Regions from separate parts of the Homo sapiens genome. Here region 1 is linked to region 2. Evidence: promoter capture Hi-C in 16 types of primary human blood cells and fetal thymus (Javierre and others, 2016). All regions are on one chromosome and are shown on one strand. The core of a region is centred on a gene start or on the middle of the fragment in contact, and the rest is flanking DNA. Distances in the headings are between cores, read along the strand shown.

Evidence for each region. Contacts are between HindIII fragments. The CHiCAGO score rates a contact against its expected background, and 5 or more counts as called.
Region 1: a contact is called between a fragment that was not itself captured here and the fragment with the promoter of NWD1 in region 2, in 1 of 17 cell types (M2 macrophages). The highest score is 5.9, in M2 macrophages.

What each region holds. Positions count from the first base shown.
Region 1 is chr19:16,965,874-16,968,590 of GRCh38, forward strand. All of the region lies in intron 18 of CPAMD8 (C3 and PZP like alpha-2-macroglobulin domain containing 8), which reads right to left. Among named protein-coding and RNA genes, the nearest start is that of CPAMD8, 60 kb to the right of the region's middle. The HindIII fragment of the contact is 4,693 bases long and covers 1-2,717 here.
Region 2 is chr19:16,718,427-16,721,126 of GRCh38, forward strand. It overlaps NWD1 (NACHT and WD repeat domain containing 1), which reads left to right and starts at 1,421. Exons shown (of 19, transcript NM_001007525.5): 1 at 1,421-1,867. The HindIII fragment of the contact is 21,822 bases long and covers 1-2,700 here.

The DNA.
Region 1 (2,717 bases), core at 52-2,551, 250 kb after region 2:
TAACGGATAGGAAGAATCAATATAGTTAAAATGGCCATACTGCCCAAGGTAATTTATAGATTCAATGCCATCCCCATCAAGCTACCAATGACTTTCTTCACAGAATTGGAAAAAACTACTTTAAAGTTCATATGGAACCAAAAAGAGCCCACATTGCCAAGACAATCCTAAGCAAAAAGAACAAAGCGGGAGGCATCACGCTACCTGAGTTCAAACTATACTACAAGGCTACAGTAACCAAAACAGCATGGTACTGGTACCAAAACAGATATATAGACCAATGGAACAGAACAGAGGCCTCAGAAATAACACCACGCATCTACAACCATCTGATCTTTGACAAACCTGACAAAAACAAGAAATGGGGAATGGATTCGCTATTTAATAAATGGTGCTGGGAAAACTGGGTAGCCATATGTAGAAAGCTGAAACTGGATCCCTTCCTTACATCTTATACAAAAATTAATTCAAGATGGATTAAAGACTTAAATGTTAGACCTAAAACCATAAAAACTGTAGAAGAAAACCTAGGCAATACCATTCAAGACATAGGCATGGGCAAAGACTTCACGACTAAAACACCAAAAGCAATGGCAACAAAAGCCAAAATAGACAAATGGGATCTAATTAAACTAAAGAGCTTCTGCATGGCAAAAGAAACTACCATCAGAGTGAACAGGCAACCTACAGATTGGGAGAAAATTTTTGCAATCTACCCATCGGACAAAGCGCTAATATCCAAAATCTACAAAGAACTCAAACAAATTTACAAGAAAAAAACAAACAACCCCATCAAAAAGTGGGCAAAGGATATGAACAGACATTTCTCAAAAGAAGACATTTATGCATCCAACACATGAAAAAATGCTCATCATCACTGGCCATCAGAGAAATGCAAATCAAAACCACAATGAGATACCATCTCATGCCAATTAGAATGGCGATCATTAAAAAGTCAGGAAACAACAAATGCTGGAGAGGATGTGGAGAAATAGGAATGCTTTTACACTGTTGGTGGGAGTGTAAATTAGTTCAACCATTGTGGAAGACAGTGTGGCGATTCCTCAAGGATCTAGAACTAGAAATACCATTTCACCCAGCAATCCCGTTACTGGATATATACCCAAAGGATTATAAATTATGCTACTATAAAGACACATGCACACGTATGTTTATTGTGGCACTATTCACAATAGCAAAGACTTGGAACCAACCCAAATGTCCATCAATGATAGACTGGATTAAGAAAATGTGGCACATATACACCATGGAATACTATGCAGCCATAAAAAAGGATGCGTTCATGTCCTTTGCAGGGACATGGATGAAGCCAGAAACCATCATTCTCAGCAAACTATCACAAAGACAGAAAACCAAATACTGCATGTTCTCACTCATAGGTGGGAACTGAACAATGAGAACACCTGGACACAGGGCGGGGAACATCACACTCTGGGGCCTGTCGGGGGGTGGGGGGCCGGGGGAGGGATAGCATTAGGAGTAATACCTAATGTAAATGATGAGTTGATGGGTGCAGCAAACCAACATGGGACATGTATACCTATCAAACTTGCACATTGTGCACATGTACCCTAGAACTTAAAGTATAATTTTTTAAAAAAAGAAAATACATATATAATTAAAAATATATGGCCAGGTGCAGTGGCTCATGCCTGTAATCCCAGCACTTTGGGAGGCCAAGGCTGGCGGATCATGAGGTCAGGAGATGGAGACCATCCTGGCTAACATGGTGAAACCCCGTCTCTACTAAAAAATACAACAAAAATTAGCCAGGCATGGTGGTGGGTGCCTGTAGTCCCAGGTACTTGGGAGGCTGAGGCAGGAGAATGGCATGAAACCGGTAGGCAGAGCTTGTAGTAAGCCAAGATGGCGCCACTACACTCCAGCCTGGGCAACAGAGTGAGACTCTGTCTCACCAAAATATATATATATATGTATATATATACACACATATGTGCGTGTATATACTTGTATATATGTGCATATATACACACACATGTGTGTGTATATATGTGCATATATACACACACATGTGTGTATATATATACATGTTGCTCTCAGAATAAGGATGTGTTTGTTCCAATTACAAAAAAGCATGGGCACTTGATTTTGAAGGCATTTCTTATGCCTTTCTCCATTGTGATTTACAATTGCCTTCATGGTTTTGAGTTTTACAAAGCTGCTGCTTCTATACCAGCCCCAGGACAAGCTCTCAGGGGTTATGCATGTGAGTGGGTCAGGGCCTCTGGGGTGGCTGCCAGCTGACAGAGGCCCTGGGGCCAGCATTCCAATCTTCCTCATCCAATCACATCTTGAAATGCTTCCATGTGTATCCAAACTACAGTATGAAGCCTAATCTGCCAATTCCCCGATTAGGAGTTGGGAAACTAGGAACCCTGTAGGCCTGCTAAACGTGTGGCCCCAGCAGGAAGAGCCTGGGGGACTGAAGCATCCAGGAGCCACTGGGGAGCAGACGGAGGGGCACAAGAAGGTTCCTGTTTTATATAGAGAGGGCTTGAAAGATGGAGAACACTTCCATGGACAGGCTCATCAGGGCTGGCCACCAAATCAAGAGGTTTCCTGGACAGGTCATACATCAAAATGGGCATCATTCCAAAAGTTAGAACCTATTTGGCAGTGAGCAATACTGGAAATACTTCATAGCACAATGTGACTGCAGCCAAAGCAGTACTCAG
Region 2 (2,700 bases), core at 171-2,670:
CCTCCCAAAGTGCTGGGATTACAGGCATGAGCCACCGCGCCTGACCAAGTATCTGAAACTTCTATCCCTGAAAATATAGTAACACTATTATTATTACTTTTTCTTTGAGATGGAGGCTTGCTCTGTCGCCCAGGCTGGAGTGCAGTGGCGCAATCTCGGCTCACTGCAAGCTCCACCTCCCAGGTTCATGCCATTCTCCTGCCTCAGCTTCCTGAGTAGCTGGGACTACAGGTGCAAACCACCACGCCCAGCTAATTTTTTGTTTTTTGTTTTTTGTTTTTTATGTAGAGACAGGGTTTCACCATGTTAGCCAGGATGGTCTTGATCTCCTGACCTCGTGATCTGCCTGCCTTGGCCTCCCAAAGTGCTGGGATTACTGGCGTGAGCCACCATGCCTGGGTGACTTGTGAGTTTTTGAGACAAAGTCTCGCTCTGTCACCCAGGCTGGAGTGCAGTGGTGCGATCTCGGCTCACTGCAAGCTCCACCTCCCGGGTTCATGCCATTCTCCTGCCTCAGCTTCCTGAGTAGCTGGGACTACAGGTGCAAACCACCACGCCCAGCTAATTTTTTGTTTTGTTTTGTTTTGTTTTTTTTGTAGAGACGGGGTTTCACCGTGTTAGCCAGGATGGTCTTGATCTCCTGACCTCGTGATCTGCCTGCCTTGGCCTCCCAAAGTGCTGGGATTACTAGCGTGAGCCACCATGCCCGGGTGATTTGTGAGTTTTTGAGACAAAGTCTTGCTCTGTCGCCCAGGCTGCAGTGCAGTGGCAGGATCTCGGCTCATTGCAACCTCCAACTCCCAGGTTCAAACAATTCTTGTGCCTCAGCCTCCCAAGTAGCTGGGATTACAGGCATGCGTCACCACGCCCAGCTAATTTTTCTATTTTTAGTAGAGATAGGGGTCTCACCATATTGGCCAGTCTGGTCTTGAATGCCTGACCTCAGGTGATCCGCCTGCCTCGGCCTCCCAAAGTGCTGGGATTACAGGCATGAGCCACCGTGCCCGGTCTTGGAGTTTTAATGGTAATTAATCATGGCTAACATCTCACGGGCCCTTCCTGTGATGTAGGTGTAGTGTTAGTCTCACTCTCTATATAAATGCTTTTCATTGTCTCACCAACACAGGAAGTTAGTGAGAAAATTCAAGTGCAGAGTAGTGAAGCGTCACAGGCAAGGGACTTCACCTTTCTGCATCTTGTTTTCTTCATCTGTGAAACAGGATCATAATGTCTGTCTCTTGGGGTAATAATGTGGACTGCTAATGCCAAATGCCAACCAACTGCACCTCCTAGACTGTCAGCAAATGGCATCTTTTACGAGGAGCCGTATCAGCCTGGCACACAATAGTTAACCACTAAGTCTGGGCTGAATGCCCGGCTAAGCTGGTGCCCTAGTGCAAACAATCGCTTTCATTATCCCAGTTGCTGGGAGAATTGGGCAAGGAGAGACCCATAAAATACCTAAGACGAAAGTTACTAGGATAGCCAGGGGCTTGTCTTCCGGGTGGCGCCGAGGCCAGGAAACTGTCCTCTCTAACCTATTTCCCCAGAGGAGTCTAAATTGGTCGTTCAACTACCAGCAAAGGCTAAAGAGAGGCTGGAGCCCCCAGGACAGCCAGAACGCTGACACTGCAAAGGGCCTCTGTCCTTACTGGGGAAGCCCAGTCCTGCTCAGCTGTCTTCTTCAGCAACAAACAGAAGTCCAGAAAGAGAAACAGTTGTGGAGGAAGCTGTTGTGATGATAATTTACTGAGCACCTACTATGTGCCAGGCACGCCAGCCTTACCAGACAAGATCCTTGGGCTCATGGAATTCACTTTCTCGTGGGACAGACAAACAATAACATGTAGAAACATATCAGCTGTTGGTGAGTACCATGCAGAAAATTAAAATAAGGCGATGGCATTGGGAGTGACTTAAGGGGTCACTACGCAATGGGATGGTCAGAGACAGCCTCTCAGGAGGAGGTAGCATTGAAGCTAAAATGTGAACAACATGAACAGATGCAGCATAGAGCACTAAAGTACAGGACGTGCAAAGGCCCTGAGGTTGAAATAAGCTAAATGCATTAGACTAGGGGGTTCTCGAGTAAGGGGAATTCTGCCCCCTAGGGGACATTGCAATGTCTAGGGAGACTTTTTTTTTTTTGAGACGGAGTCTCGCTCTGTCACTAGGCTGGAGTGCAGTGGCGTGATCTCAGTTACTGCAAGCTCTGCCTCCCAGGTTCACACCATTCTCCTGCCTCAGCCTCCTGAGTAGCTGGGACTACAGGTGTCCGCCACATGCCCGGCTAATTTTTTGTATTTTTAGTAGAGACGGGGTTTCACCGTGTTAGCCAGGATGGTCTCGATCTCCTGACCTCATGATCTGCCCTCCTCGGCTTCCCAAAGTGCTGGGATTACAGGCGTGAGCCACCGCACCTGGCCGAGACTTTTTCTTTTTGAGATGGAGCCTTGCTCTGTTGCCCAGGCTGGAGCGCAGTGGCACGATCTCGGCTCACTGCAACCTCTGCTTCCCGGGTTCAAGCGATTCTCCTGCCTCAGGCTTCCGAGTAGCTGGGATTACAGGTACATGCCACCGCGCCAGCTAATTTTTGTATTTTTAGTAGAGATGGGGTTTCGCCATGTTGGCCAGGCTGGTCTCGAACTCCTGGCCTCAAGTAATCTGCCTGTTTTGGCCTCTCAAAGTGCTGGGATTAGA